2 separate regions of the Homo sapiens genome follow, and region 2 is linked to region 1. The links are contacts of gene promoters, found by promoter capture Hi-C in blood cells and fetal thymus (Javierre and others, 2016). All regions are on one chromosome and are shown on one strand. Each heading gives the region's core, a stretch centred on a gene start or on the middle of the fragment in contact. The rest is flanking DNA. Distances are from core to core; before and after follow the strand shown.

The links. Contacts are between HindIII fragments. The CHiCAGO score rates a contact against its expected background, and 5 or more counts as called.
Region 2: a contact is called between the fragment with the promoter of PIK3R2 here and the fragment with the promoter of CIST1 in region 1, in 16 of 17 cell types (neutrophils, total B cells, naive CD8 T cells and 13 more). The highest score is 17.3, in neutrophils.

The regions. Positions count from the first base shown.
Region 1 is chr19:18,252,177-18,259,893 of GRCh38, forward strand. It overlaps CIST1 (colon, intestine and stomach enriched 1), which reads right to left and starts at 3,186. Exons shown (of 4, transcript NM_001396036.2): 1 at 3,044-3,186; 2 at 1-295. The coding sequence starts at 3,131. IQCN (IQ motif containing N) reads right to left here. Exons shown (of 4, transcript NM_001145304.2): 4 at 4,922-5,930. The coding sequence ends at 5,004. It also overlaps a transcript of PDE4C not described here. The HindIII fragment of the contact is 13,123 bases long and covers 1-7,717 here.
Region 2 is chr19:18,150,810-18,158,526 of GRCh38, forward strand. PIK3R2 (phosphoinositide-3-kinase regulatory subunit 2) reads left to right here and starts at 2,354. Exons shown (of 16, transcript NM_005027.4): 1 at 2,354-2,485; 2 at 4,648-5,392. The coding sequence starts at 5,071. It overlaps MAST3 (microtubule associated serine/threonine kinase 3), which reads left to right. Exons shown (of 28, transcript NM_001393504.1): 28 at 1-878. RefSeq lists enhancers at 1,105-1,184, 1,727-2,619, 1,925-2,204, 5,817-6,675 and silencers at 2,315-2,694, 3,005-3,224. The HindIII fragment of the contact is 8,629 bases long and covers 1,099-7,717 here.

The DNA of each region.
Region 1 (7,717 bases), core at 1,936-4,435:
TGGGAAGAGGGGGTGAGCTCTGCACTGGGGGAGCCAGAACTAGGGTGCGTGATTGTCTCTGGTTGTGGGGAGGAGGGTATCATCCTTGAATCTGTGGAGCTGGGGCTCGGCTGGATGGTAGGGGTTGCCCCTGAACTTGAGGGGCTGAGGTGGGTTATGGAGTCTGTCTCCAAACTCATGGTGCTGGAGTAGGATTTGGGGGGTTCCCCTGAACTGTGGGTGCTGTGGGCGAAGGGAGAAGAAATCAGAGAGCTGACAGGTGATGTCTCCATACTGTTCTCTGAGGTCACAATATCTGGAAAGAAAAACTGGGCGCGGTGGCTCACGCCTGTAATTCCAGCACTTTGAGAGGTCAAGGTGAGAGCATCACTTGAACCCAGGAATTAGAGACCAGCCTGGGCAACATAGCGAGACCCTCTCTCTCTCTCTTTCTCTCTCTCTTTTTTTTTTTCTTTTTTTGAGATGGCGTCTCGCTCTGTCACCCAGGCTGGAGAGCAGTGGTGCCATCTCAGCTCACTGCAACCTCCACCTCCTGGGTACAAGCAATTCTCCTGCCTCAGCCTCCCAAGTAGCTGGGATTACAGGCGTGCATTACCACGCCTGGCTAATTTTTGCATTTTTAGTTTCACTGTGCTGGCCAGATTTGTCTCGAACTTCTGACCTCAGATGATCCACCTGCCTTGGCCTCCCAAAGTGCTGGGATTACAGGCATAAGCCATCATGCCCAGCCTTTTCATTTTTATTTTTAATTAATTTATTTTTTTGTCCAGGTCATAGGGAGACCTGAAAGATTTAGGACACCATGTGAGCTCTCAGTGGGAAACTGAAGCTCCCACTCAAATTCATGCTCCTGGTCTGAAGTCCCACAGCCTGGGTTCAAGTGCAGATCAGCGTTCCCAGTCCTCTTGGCTGAGAGCTCTAGAAGCCCTTTGGATATGGGAAGTGACTGCATCCCAGGCAGTGCTGGGCAGCTCCTTTAAATTTTCTGGGACTCAGTTTTCTTTTCTGTAAAATGGAGTTCATGTGGAGTTGGTGCCTCTGACAGTTCATCAGTCAGGTTCATAGTGGGTGTACACAAGCTGGGTGCTCCCAGCTACTGGGGAGGCTGAGGCGGGAGGATTGCCTGACCCCAGGAATTCAAGGCTGTAGTGCGCCATGATTGCGCCACTGCACTCCTGCCTGGGAGACATAATGAGACCTTGTCTCTACAAAAAAATAAAACAAAAATTAGCCAGGCATGGTGGTGCATGCCTAGTCCCAGCTACTCAGGAGGCTGAGGTGGGAGGATCGCTTGAGTCCAGGAGTTCAAGGCTGCAGTAAGCCATGATCATGCCACTGAACTCCAGCCTAGGCAACAGAGTGAGACTCCGTCTCAAAAAAAAAAAAAACACACACACACAATAGAATAGAAACACAGTGGGTGCACAGTGACACTCAACTATAAAGATCCACCTATGAGCTCAGAGAGGATCAGCCCTAATTTTCTCCAGGTAGCCCTAGGCTAACCTCAACTTTAATGGAAGACACAAAGACACAGGCGCTGGGAACATGTCTCCGGAACCCACCCTTCTACGTGTTGGTCCAGCTACTTCCTGGCTCACATCCCATCCCAGGCATGGAGTCCAGGGACCAGGCTGAGGGCAGGTAAGCAGTTCATGAGCCACCTCCCACAACGACTTCCCACCCAGTTCCAGGTGACTGGGCCTCTTAGGCACTTACAAGTTCATTCATCAACTCTCTGCTCCACCCATGCACTCTGCTCTGGGCCAAACTTTGTGCTTCCTCCTTGACTCACCCTAGGCAGCAGAAATGCGGAAATAACACACAACACTGGCCCTGAGAGGGGGCTGGGTCCACATGCCACCCTCCCCAGATCTCTATGTAGCCCCCCAGGCCCTGTGGGGATGACGGCTGAGTCTAGAAGAGGCATGGAACTCAGGCTGGGCTTCATCCCCATTTGACAGATGAGAAACTGAGGCTCAGAGTAGCAGAGGGTCTGGCCTGAGGTGACTGGGGAGCTGGGAAGAACGCCCCTCAAGGACCCTTGTCCTCTGTTTCTGCTGAAATGAAGATGATTCAGAGGCCAGAGTGGACCCCAAGCCAAGTCAGAATTCTGGGGAGCTGAGTGCTTAGTGAACTGAGGAAAAGCTGTGGACTTGAAAAAGGAAGAGTTGGAGGACACAAGCCCTGTTGAGTGCCTGGCACTGAGTAGGCACTGGTGAGCTGCTGAAGGGTTGACCAGAAGGTAAAAATAAAGATGTTTCTAGGCACTGTGCTGGGTGTTTGCTCTCCCCAGAGACTCCTAGACTGGGAGGCTCACATGAGCCAAGTCAACCAGTTCTAATCTGGGTCTGGGACAAGCTGGACTGAGCCTCAGTTTCCTGAGCTATGAAATGGGGATAAAAGTGGTGCCTTCTGAATGAAACCCTTCCCTGCAATGAGCATTTCAGCAGCCATGGTGGCCTCTGCTCTGCTATTACAGGTCTGTGGGGTAGGACACCGGTCAGAGAGAGTGACAACATAGTGGCAGGTAAAGGGCAGAAAAAGGGAATGCGAGAAGCTCAAGGCTCCTCCCCTCCACCCTAGGCACTGTCTTATAGGAGAGCAAGAGGGAATTAAGTCAGACACCCAGAAGAACTTCTCATGGGAACCACAGATGTTTGATGACCAGGAAGTGAGTCCCTGTTCCCTGGAACCCCCATGGCCCTGAGGTCTTCACCATTCTCCCTTTGGGGATTGGCTAAAAGCAACAGATTTGAAAAGGAGCCCAAAAGTAGGTGTGAGGCCATCTGTGGCCTCCAGCAGGTTCAGGGCTCACTGGAGTTGCAGGACCCACAGCCCCAGGGCTTGGGAGCAGCGGTGCCTCATCTGTCCTCACAGCTGCTCCGTTTGTTTCTGGGGGAAAACCCAGCCTTCCTCGGAGGGTTGGCGGACCAGCGTGGCCTGAGGGAGGGGTCCAGAAGCCAGGTGTGTGACTGGGCTGTGCGTCCCCCACCCCCACCCTTCCGCTTTCTGGAAGCTGAGCCTCTTTACCAGCTCTTACCTGTAAAGGGAGTATTGTAATTCACACCAGCTTTCAGCAGCACCACCAGCACCAAAAGCAGAAGTGGCGGCAGCTGGGGGCACGCCATTCCTGCGCCGGGAGGGCCTGCCACCGGCTCTGCACAGGTGTGTGGCCAGGTGTGTGCCCAGGTGCCAGCTCCTTGCACCTGCGTGTGCGCTCCCTGCTGGCGGAGCGCGGGGCTGTGCAGGGGCAAGGCGCAGGTGGGGCTGCAGGGTGTGGGACCTCCCTGGGGCGCTCCTGTTCCCCCGGGTGCGGTTCTCGCCCTCTTCACCTGGACTCCACCCCTTCTAAACACGACGACCCAGAAGCTCTCAAAGCCAGTCATCCACTAAAGACACCCTGCCCCTGCCGTCCTCTTTCCCCCTGCTCCTGGTTCCACAGCTGCCCAAACCCCTGCTGTCACTCCCTCTGCCCCTCGTCCAGCCAGGTTGTCCCCTCTGGGAGCACCAATTTCTCCCACCTCCCTCCGATCCCTGAACCCACAGGGCTGGGGATGTCCTTGTTCTCTGTCCTCGTCCTCCTCTGTCCTCTGTCTCACCCAGACTGGGGCCTTTTGGGGACATGACTGAAACCTTCTAACCTTCTAGCATTTCTATTATGGATTTCTTTTTCTTTCTTTTATTCTTTTTTTTTTTTGAGACGGAGTCTTGCTCTGTCACCCAGACTGGAGCGCAGTGATGCAATCTTGGCTCACTGCAACCTCTGCCTCCCGGGTTCAAGTAATTCTCCTGCCTCAGCCTCCCGAGTAGCTGGCGCCCGCTACCAGGCCTGGCTAATTTTTGTATTTTTTAGCAGAGACAGGGTTTCACCATGTTGGCCAGGCTGGTCTCGAACTCCTGACCTCAAGTGATCCACCCGCCTCGGCCTCCCAAACTGCTAGGATTACAGGCATGAGCCACCGTGCCCAGCCCTTTTTTTTTTTTTTTTTAAGAGACGGGGTCTCACTCTGTCGCCCAGGCTGAAGCACAGTGGCACAATCACAGCTCACTGCATTCTCAAACTCTGGGATTCAAGCAACCTCCCGCCTCAGCCTCCCAAGTAGCTGCGATTACAGGCGTGTACCACCATGCCCGGCTAATTTTTTTTTTTTTTTTTTGAGACTGAGTTTAGCTCTTGTTGCCCAGGCTGGAATGCAATGGCACAATCTTGGCTCACCACAACCTCCGCCTCCCGGGTCCAAGCGATTCTCCTGCCTCAGCTTCCTGAGTAGCTGGGATTACAGGCATGTGCCACCATGGCCGGCTAATTTTGTATTTTTAGTAGAGACGGGGTTTCTCCATGTTGGTCAGGCTGATCTCGAACTTCTGACCTCAGGTGATCTGCCCACCTCGGCCTCCCAAAGTGCTGGGATTACAGGCGTGAGCCACCGTGCCTGGCCTTTTTTTGTTGTTGTATTTTTTTTTAGTATAGATGGGGTTTTACCATGTTGGCCAGGCTGATAGCTCTAACTCCTGACCTCAGGTGACCCACTCGTCTTGGTTTCCCAAAGTGCTGGGATTACAGGCATGAGCCACCACACCCAGCCATCCTGTAGGATTTTTTAGGGGTGAGGGACTTGAGGTGAGTGCTCTGGGCCAGGTCCCAGGCACATTTCTAGAGTGCACTGGGGACAGTTTCCATCTGGGACGGGCTGGACACCACCCCACTACCTGTACGTGGATATGGCAGAGGCACAGCTGAGACCACATTGGCAGTGCCTGACCTCCAGGAAAGATTTGAGGTCCCCATGCTGGCCACAGACCCCAGATGCATACTGCATGGTTGGTAACTTCAGAGTTCTCTTCCCTCTGGGATGTTCCAGATTCCCCCACTATACCCAAGCCACTTCCATTAACCCAGAACACATCACCCAAGATCTAGGCTGTGGAGGACTTTATTCATTAGACCCAGAGAGCCATGAGTGCCTCCCACGAAGTCCCCACTGCAGGGAGCCAGGGTCCTAGATGCCAGGCCAATGCATGTGCCGTGAGCTGGCCGAGGGGTCTGCTGGTCCCAAGAGCGCCTCTGTGTTCTTCAGACAGCTCCGGGTATGGTGGCCTCGCCAGGTGGCTTGAACTATCTTCGCTGCCATTTGCTGCTGCCTCATCTGCTGGCGGATCTTAAAGCCCCTCCAGGCGGACTGGATGGCTGTGGCCGCTTTGTCCTGGCGATGCGGCTGCCTGGGACTCAGGGCAGCCAGCTGGTAGGCGGAGGCCCAAGACACTGCCCCGGGGCCCTCAGTGCCCTGGCCCATGCCCTGCACCACACGGGTGGGCTGTGTGCGTCCACAGGTATGACAGGTGCGAGGGCTGGAGCCCACTAGCATCACCACGCTGGGCGGGCTCCCGATCCTGGAGCTCAGGGAGTGGCAGACGCTGCAAGCGTGTGCCTGGCAGGACTGGAAGCAGCGATGGTCAGATACTGTCCTGGCTCTGCCATCCTGGAACCAGCTTCGGTCAGACATGACCCCGGCCCGGCTGCCCAGCTCCACCCACGTGACGGGGTGGAGCATCTGCCAGTGCCGGGCTTGGTCCCGGCGGGTGCTGTAGCCGCGCCAGGCAGACTGGATGGTCGTGGTGGCTCTGCAGAGGTGTGCCAGGTTCCGCCGCACACGGTAGCCGCGCCAAGTAGCTTGGATGACCATGGCCCCCCGGTGCCACAGCCGGATCCTGCGACGCGCCAGGTAGCCACGGACGCCCGCCTGGATAGTGATCACTGCGAGGATGCGGATCTCCTCTGCAGCCTGCATGGACACCATTGGCTCCCCGGACCGCCTGGGAGGCACCACCGCCTTGTTGCGCCAGGTGTCCCAGGACGCAGCACCCCTGGCTGGCTCCCATGCGCGGTTCCACGATTGGCCACCAACCACACCAGCGTCCGCGGGGCCCTGGAGTATAGTGGAGTTCAGGGATGCCTTGTGACTAACGGCAGGATTCTGGGGGCTATAGGAGTCCTGCCGTCTCCACGGTGACTCCTGGTTAAAAAGGGGTGGCAGGGAACCACTTGGGGAAGACTCATAGCCTAGAGACACCCTCCGAACTCCCGGGGCCAGCGGAGGAATGACCGAGGAGTGTGTCATCTCCCCAGTGCGGATGACGGGCCTTACCTCTGCAGAGGGCCTGTGGGTGGGGTTTGCACCACTTCGGGCTGAGGCCTGGGATGGTTGTCTTTGCACATACTGTAAGGGCCTAACCCTGGCCACAGAACTTTCTAGCAGTTCTGGAACAATCCTACCATGCACGGATCTGTAGGAATTTTTAGGGCCCATGGCGTCCCAGCGGCTGCTCGGAGCCATGTTTCCAGACACTGTTTTCTGGAGTGGATTGGGGACAGCTTCTGTCTGGAAGGGACTGGACAATGCCCTTCTAGCCGAGGACGGATATAGTGGCACATGTGAGACCATGCTGGTGGTCCCTGACCTCTGAAGAAGACTAGGATTCCCCATCCTGCCCACAGACACTGAAAGCAATCTGAAAGCCTCAGTACTGCCACGGGCCAGCTGGGGTGATCCTGAGACTACATTAGAAGCCACTGTACCCTGAGAGTGATTTGGGGGTATGACGTGAGTGACAGACCCCTGTTGATAAACTGAGGGGGACTTAGTGGCTAAACCCGGGGCCTGGAAAGGGACAGGGACCATGCCACTAGCATGGCTGGGAGCCACCTCCCTTGGGGAAGAGACCCTTTCTCAGACAGGGACCTATGATCATGGCCCCCATCAGCTCCCAGAGGACTGGAGTACATCCACTGGGTTGCACCAGTGACCCTGGCTTTGCTGAATAGGTCATTGGATCCACTTGATCCTGACACTTGGAACACAGCCTCATCCAATTCTCCTAGCTTGGCTTGGTCCCCTGTGACCCCAGATGGCATTATCCTAGCATCTTGGCTCAATTGTAAGGCTCTTGATAGAACCGTGGGCACTCGGTGTAGACTCCTCACTGTGCCACTAGCTGCCGGGGCTGAGGAGTGACCTGGAGCCAGACTGGTGGTGTGGGGCATCTGCAAGGGGGCTAAAGACCTCTCCCCAGCCAGGCTTTGAGGTAAGGAGGGGCAGTGATGTCAATCACCATGGGCCCCTTGGAGCAGCTCTGAGCCACACTAGAGGCCCCCATCATTGGCACAGAACCAGGGGGACAACTGGGCTCACCCGACTCACTACTGAACCTGGGAGCAAGTTTGGAGCAGCTAAGCTAGCGGAGGGTCTTACAGATAGACTTGGCTTCTTTCTGTCTGCCATCAGACTGGGAGCCACCCAACTGGACACAGAGCCTGCGGGAAGGCTGTGACCCATGCCTCGGATGGTGGAGCCCGGGGGAAGGCTGGAGGTTATGCCACCAGGCAGAGTGCCTGGGACTGCGCCCGTGCTCATTCTACTGGCTACAAAACCTCCTGCCGCACCACGACCAGCCCTGCTCTTCAGAGAGTCCTGCGGAATCACATCTCTCTGCTGGTAACTGGGTGGGACCATGGATGCCTCAGAAGGGTGCCAGCAGTCTATGTTTTTTGGAATAACCACACTGATCTGGGAGCTGCTGGGGTCCATGCTGTTCAGGGAAAGATTAGACTGAGTCACGGCCAGTCTGTTGGGCACTGAAGCCAGAGAGGGGCTGGGGGCCATCCCTGTGGTTCCAGAGGGATGTGTCAAAGGGCCACCTGCCTCTAAGACCTGGG
Region 2 (7,717 bases), core at 1,104-3,603, 100 kb before region 1:
CACTGATAAAGGAAGGTACAGGCCTCACCTGGAACTGCCAAGGCAGCCTCCAGAAATGCTCGGCTGTCTCGGGGCACGCTCCAGTATGCCAGTCCTGCGGGATTACGTCCAGCTACTTCCAGAAACACTCAGTGTCCCCTCCCCTCAGGCTCTGCCTTGGCCTGGCCTTGTCCAGTCTACCCTGGACAAGATGCCGTGTGTTTGAGGCCCAGCAGAGTAAGCCCTTGGCCGTGATGTGTCTGAAACACCTGTTAGGGGTTCCCTCCATATGTCAGAGCCTCTCTGGGATGAAGTTCAAGCCAGAAAACCCAGTCGAGGCTCAAGTTTGAATTTCAGCTTCACTGTGTGGCTCTGGGAAAATGGCTTTCCCACTCTGTGCCTCAGTTTCCTTGTGTTTACAAGACTAATCCCATTGACTGTTTATTAAGCACCTACTGTGTGCCAAGCGCTTTTACGTGGCTTCTCCCTCAGCCAGCCTTGAGAAGGCTGGAGGTGGTGTCATCACCTCCATTTTACAGACAAAGCAGCTGAGACCCCAGCGAGGGGCGGAGACCTGTCCCACGATCACCCAGCAGGAGTCGTGGCAGAACGGAGCATCAGCCAGACCCTGTTGTGGGCGTTGTCATCAAGGGAGCTTGAATGGAGGGTCTGGTGTCAGATACAGCCGACTCCAGCCCCAGCTCATCCCCCATGATGCTGTGTGACCCACTGGGCACTCTGGTGAGGGAGCTTTCCAGACATCAACAGCCCACTCTGCTTCCCTTTCTGAGTCCCCTGTCCAGCACTGCCTAGTGTTGGAGGGTAGACCAAGGCTGTGCATGATTCACCCCCTCCTTCCATCCTGGAGCTGGCAGTGAATAAAAGCCCGTATTTACAAAGATGAGCTCCAACGTCTGGATTTGTGAGGGGCTGAGAAAGGAGGAAGGGAAGAGTGGGGAGGGGAGCGGAGTGAAATAGACCCATGGCTCAAAGTCATTGCAAGTGGGTTTTGAGGACTGCATAGCAGTTCGCTGTTGAGATTCTTCCTGATGCCATCGCTGGTACCAGCCTCCTGCTACCCTCTCCCTGCGAGTACTCCATCATAGCCCTGCCTTTAAAAGCTTCCTCCAGACATCTGGGCCCTGAGCTATGTTTTTTATTTTTATGTTTTTGAGACAAGGTCTCGCTCTGTAACCCAGGTTGGAGTACAGTGGCGCAATCACGGCACATTGCAGCCTCGACCTCCTGGGCGCCCTGGGCTATGTTAATAAAATAAATAAGCGGCGGGGCGCGGTGGCTCACGCCTGTAATCCCAGCACTTTGGAAGGCCAAGGCGGGCGGATCTCCTGAGGTCGGGAGTTCCAAACCACCCTGACCAACATGGAGAAACCCCGTCTCTACTAAAAATACAAAATTAGCCGGGCGTGGTGGCGCATGCCTGTAATCCCAGCTGCTCGGGAGGCTGAGGCAGGAGAATCGCTTGAACTCGGGAGGTGGAGGTTGCGGCGAGCCGAGATAGCGCCATTGCACTCCAGCCTGGGCAACAAGAGCGAAACTCCGTCTCAAAAAATAATAACAAAATAAGCAATCGTCGCGTCCTTTCTATCCTGGTCTTAGCTTGCGCTCTGCCATAAAACTCCCTCTAGCCGAACCCGGCCCAGCCCTAGAGCAATCCGTTACTTCCGGGGCGCTCAGCCGGCATGCAAACACTCTTGGCTACAGCCCCATCTCCGAGTGCGTTCGGCTATTTCCGGAAACCGTCGGCATCTAGGCTCAAGTCCGCTAAATTCTAGTGCCCGTAGGGGTCGAGATCGTTGGCTGTTTCCGGACGCTCTGGGTTGCCATGGAAACTCCTTCAACCCTGGCTTTCTCCGACTTCTGCTTTTTGCGGCAGGCCCTTTCCCCACTCTACTGCCCCCTGTTTGCTGAGCTTGAGAACGCCTCATTTGTCCCCTGGAACCATCTATGCTTCAGTAATTCCCATAAGCTGGCGGTCGCCTCTGGGTCTAAACTCCCAAGGCCTCCATTGGGCACTGAGCACATTCGGTTATTTCCAGAAACGCTCCGCGGTCTTGGGGATCAGCCTCAGTTGTGCCAGTGCGGCCGTAGAGAGTGTTCGGCCATTTCCGAAAGCGCTCGGGCGTCTCTAAGCCCAGCCGAGCCCAGTCTCGGATCCCTCGCCGACCCGATTGCACTCGGCTACCTCTGGAAACGCTCGGCTGTCTCGGGGGCACCCTCTAGTCCACCAGTCCCGCGGGATTACGTTCGGCTACTTCCGGAAACACTCGGGTGCCCCCTTACCTCAGGCTCCGCCTCGGCCTCGGTTCATCCGCCCGGCTCGAATGCGCTCGGGCATTTCCGCCGGGGGCGGGCCAGGCCGCTCGGAACCGTGGCGGCGGCGGAGGCGGGGATCCCGCGGCTGCGGCGACGGTGGCCGCGGTGGAGCCACGGGGCGGGCTTGGCTTGGTGTGACGGCGGCTGCGGCGGCGGTGGCGGCCGCGACCAGGTGAGTCCTGACTGGCCCTCGTGGCGGGGGCGGCTGGGAGTGTGCTTAAATGCGGGGCGCCCGGGGGCAGTGCCGGGCCCCGGTGGAAGCCAGAACGCAAGCGCCAGGCTGCGTCGGGCCCCGCGGGAACTGGGGGGGCCGCAGGCAAGGGGGGGCCTCGGGCTCGGCTCCGCAGCGGTGCAGCCTCCTTGGGACGGTCGGGGCAGAATGGGGAGAGACTCCCCGCGTCCAAGATACCGGACTGGAGCCGAGGCCCCAAATGAAGGGAGGCCCTGCCTGGAATGGGGCTTCGAATAGTACCGAGGGGCGCCCAGGCATTGTGCGGGGCAGAATGGGGTGCGGGAGGGCCGGGGGTCGAACCCACTTCCGGTCCCCTAGCCGGGTGGCCGGGTCCACGCAGACCCAAGTGCGCGTCTGTGTGAGCGCTCAGGCCCTGCCTTCACCCGCGGAGCCCCCAGCCCTGCCTGCCCCGCCCCTCCCGCCTCCCGGATTCGGGGAGCGCTGCTCCCGGGGCGCGCACACCGGGGCGTGGGGGCGGGCTGGCAGGCAGATCCAGGCGGTTTTCTGGGCATCCCCTCTCGGGGCCTCAGTTTCCCCACCTGTAGAATGAGGGTAACAGAGGCCTAGGAATGGGTAAATTGGGCACCCGAGAATGTGGCGCCCCTCCGCCCTGCTCGGACACCTCTTGGGGTTCCCCGTGACTGAAGGATGCTCAGAGCCTCCACCTGACACTCGGGCCTCTTGGTGGATAGCACCTATCCTTATAGCCACCCTGAATCCTTGACAAGCAACTTAACCCACTGCCAAGGCTTTGCATGTGCCGTTCCGTCTGCCTGTCGCGCCTTCCTATCCGCTGTGATGATCCATTCTCTAGAACAGCACGTCCATCCCCCGACCCTAGCCCTGTCCATCACAGGGCGTCTGAACCCGCAGGGCTAGGCTGGGAATGTGTGCCTATCTCCGCCTCCCCAGGCTGGGACTCCTGGGGAATAATCAATGCCCTGCTGCCGGCAGCCTCCCCTCCTCCTCAGCTGCAGTACCCCCACCTTCTCCTGGCTCCCTGTCCCTGCCTGGGGCTAAGGTTCCTTCTAAGCACCTCCCCATCTGCATTTTGTGCCTACTCTGGGCCCCAGGCTGGAGCTACCTGCCAGCCCACTCACTCCTCCTCTGCAGAGACTGGAGGTCCATTTGCTTGGACTCACCTCGAGGCCTTTGCTTGTGTAGAGGCCTCTTCCTGGACTTTGTTCCCTACCTCTTAGTTCAGCTGGCCTGACCCCTCTATGGAGCTCCCAAAGCACCCGGAGTGGCCTCCATTGCGTCCTCCCTGCCCTAGGTATCTGGCCACCTGGCTGCTGCCCCCTCATGTCCAACTGGGCCAAGTCGGCAGATCTAGGTGTAAGTCCTGGCTTCCTCCTGGCCTACTGCACGGCCCTAGATACCTCCCTGCTCTGAGCCTCAGTTTCCCCATCTGTAACAGGGGTGATGAAAAGCCTGTTTACTGGCCGGGCGCGGTGGCTCACACCTGTAATCCCAACACTTTGGAAGGCAGAGGCAGGAGGACTGCTTCAGCCCAGGAGTTTGCGACCAACCTGGGCAACATAGCAAGACCCCACCTCTATTGGAAAAAAAAAAAAAAAGGCTGGGCAAGGTGGCTCATGCCTGTAATCCCAGCACTTTGGGAGGCCAAGGCGAGCAGATCACTTGAGGTCAGGAGTTCAAGACCAGCCTGGCCAACATGGTGAAACCTCGTCTCTACTAAAAATACAAAAATTAGCTGGGTGTGGTGGCCTGCTACTCGGGAGGCTGAGGCAGGAGAATTGCTTGAACCTGGGAGACAGGTTGCAGTGAGCTGAGATCACACCACTGCACTCCAGCCTGGGTGACAGAGCAAGACTCTATCTCAAAAAAAAAAAAAAAAAAAACTGATTTACTGAGCATGTAGTATACCTGGGGCAGGTTCTTGGGAACTCTACTCCCAGCAGCTCCAAGGGAAGGCTGTCAGTATACCCATTTTACAGATAGAGAAGCTGAGGCCCTGAGAGGGACCGGCCCCAAGGTCACCCAGTGATTCAGGGAATTCCAAATCAGGATTTGGGCCCATCTCCGTGTTGGGGGTGAGAGGAGTTGGCCTGGCTAACGCTGCCCTATCCCTGTCTCCCTAGGTCGGCGTCCTCAGCTGGCCGAGCATGGTGGCAGCCTGCACCCTTGGCTCCCTTGTCTGGTGCAGCCAGCAGAGCCGCCAGCCTTGGGCGCCCATGGCCCTCCGTGTGAGGGCGTGAGCGGCCTGCCCCAGCCTCACCTGCTGATGGAGGACTCAATGGCCCAGTGACCTGACACCACACCACCAACTCCCTCCCACCAGCTGACGAATGGTGGACCCAGTGACGAGTGGCCCTTGTAAGGGTCATGGAATAATTTGAAGCGAGGCATGAGCGGCCCCTGTGGTCGCCTGTGACTGCTGGAGATAGAGGTCCCAGCACCCCAAGCCAACCCAGCGGACCCTCCCAGCCCTGCTTCAACCAATGGGGCCAGTGGGGCTCCAAGCAGCCACCTAACCATCCAGACCCCACCCCACTCACGCGGCCATGGCGGGCCCTGAGGGCTTCCAGTACCGCGCTCTGTACCCGTTCCGCCGGGAGCGGCCGGAGGACCTGGAGCTGCTGCCCGGCGACGTGCTGGTAGTGAGCCGGGCGGCCTTGCAGGCGCTGGGCGTGGCCGAGGGTGGCGAGCGCTGCCCACAGAGCGTGGGCTGGATGCCCGGCCTCAACGAGCGCACACGGCAGCGAGGTGACTTCCCTGGCACCTATGTGGAGTTCCTGGGGCCCGTGGCCCTGGCCCGGCCCGGCCCTCGCCCACGGGGCCCCCGCCCACTGCCCGCCAGGCCCCGTGATGGGGCCCCTGAGCCAGGTGAGCAGCAAGCAGGGGCCCTGGAAAGGGGGGTGGTCCCCTCAGACCCTTGGTCTCCTCTTCTGTCCAGTGAGGCAATGGGATCTCCAAGGAAGGAGGAAAAAGGACATTTGGTCATTTGACAAGTGTCTTCAGTGCTAGGCTCAGCAGTGGACACAAGGCCTGTTCCTGCCCTCATGAGCTTCTGGTTCAAGAAGGGATGAGAGTGGGTTCAGGAGGTGACACATGCCATGAGGAAGGGGGCTTGCGTGGGAAGATGCGAGGGTGGAAGCTCAAGGCAGTGGGGGCAGCGAGGGCAGAGGCTGTGGAGTAGAACTCTAATGGCGGGAACGGCCAGCAGGAGGACCAGAGGGAGGAAGGGGAGGGCAATGTGCGCTGGCATGGAGGACTTAGTGGGATTGATTTTGAGGACAATGGAGAGTGTTCAGTAGGATTCAGAGGCTCAGCCTAGCTTCATCCTGCCTTTTGCAGACAGGGTCCCTTGAAGAACCCCTTTGGAGACCCTGATTTCCAAAATGAAGCCACAAGGAGGGTAGGATGTGGGCTGCTCAGCTGAGGCCACACAGCACAGTGGGATATGAGGACCCCACATCCCTCTTCAAAGACCCTTGGCCATCACCACTTGCCAGGGGTGTGCCAGGTGTAGAGAATCGGGGGCACCGAGCCCACTCAGTGACTGCTGTTTGATGGGCAGGGAGTGTGGGCTCTGGCCGGGGAAACTGTGGCCCAGGTTGCAAGGAGGAGGCTAAGAGGTGCTGCATGCTCGGCATGGTCTGCTCCGACCCTCCCAGCAGCCCAGCAAAAGGCCCTGTGTGCAGACCGGGAGGCCTGAGTGCAAGGCCGTCAAATGCCGTACTTGAAACCAGTTGGTCACCCAGGGAGGCCAAAGCCCCGGGAGGTGCCAGGCCTGCTTTGTGCCAGGGTGACATTGCCCAAAGGCAAACCAGAGTCCCCCAGCGCAGGGCGGAATAGGGGGTGCTGAGGTGGTGCGACGCTGGCCCCAGCCTCCAGGCATCTGGTATCTCCAGGGCCCAGGCCTGCGTCCTGCCTCGGCCTGAAGGAGCAGGAGGTGGCCCCGTCTGGGCTCCCAGCCAGAATCTGCCTCTCCCCCTGGTAACAGCCACCTCCCTCCTCTGCCTGGCCTCTGTCCAGCCACCATACACGGCCCCACGTGGGGCGGCTGCCCAGCCCCACCCTCTGAATCTTCCAGGGTTATGTGACCTCGGCCAGAACCCGCCCCCTCGAGGCCTCAGTTTCCTCATCTGGAAACAACAGGGTTGGTCCCTGGGGATGCTGGGACCCAACCCCTCGGAAATGTGCTGAAGTCACCTGAGCCCCACCTGGCTGTGCACCCACGGGGGAGGTTGCAGCCCCTCTGACCCACAATTCCTCACCTGCAAAGTCGGGGTGATGCAGTTCTGATGGGAACCCCCTCCCCATTCTGCAGATTGATCCCAGGCCACTCTCAGGGTTGAGTTTCCCAACCCACCGGCCAGAGTGTCACCCACCTCCACCTCCTCCTTGTCCTTTTCCTTTTTTTTTTTTTTTTTGGCGTTTTCGTTGCAGCTGGGCCTTTCTCCAGCTTGAGGCGCCACCTGGCCCATCACTCAGGGAGGCCCCGCAGGCCCCGGCTTGCCCCTGCTGTGTGCCAGGGCGTCCCCGCCGAGGGCCAGAGCAGCGTCCAATGGTGGCAGACAGCGAGCTGCTGAGGCGGGGATGCTGCACACAAAAGGCCCTGTAGTGCTGGGAAGCCAGGGCTGGGAGGGGGCTGGGCCCAGGATGCCGCCGGCACCCGCTAGGAGGGGTTTCAGCTTTTCCAAAAGGGGAGCAATAATTTTCTTTCTTTTCTAAATTTTAATTTGGGGAAGAAATAATTTTTTAGAAGCAAAATGATTAAGAAAACGGGTCATGGTCCTTGGAAGGAAGCTGTTCTGACCCAGGCCGGGATATTTTTCTTTTCTTTCCTTTCAACCACTTTTTTGTTTGCATCAAGAAGGGAGAAGCGGGCCGGGCACAGTGGTTCATGCCTGTAATCCCAGCACTTTGGGAGGCCAAGGCGGGTGGATCACTTGAGGTCAGGAGTTCAAGACCAGCCTGGCCAACAGGGTAAAACCCCATCTCTACTAAAATAATACAAAAATTAGCCAGGCATGGTGGCACCCACCTATAATTCCAGCTACTTAGGAGGCTAAGTCACGAGAATCGCTTGAACCCGGGAGATGGAGGTTGCAGTGATCCAAGATCATGCCACTGCACACCAGCCTGGGTGACAGAGCAAGACTCCATCTCAAAAAAACAACAACAACAACAACAACAAAAAACGAG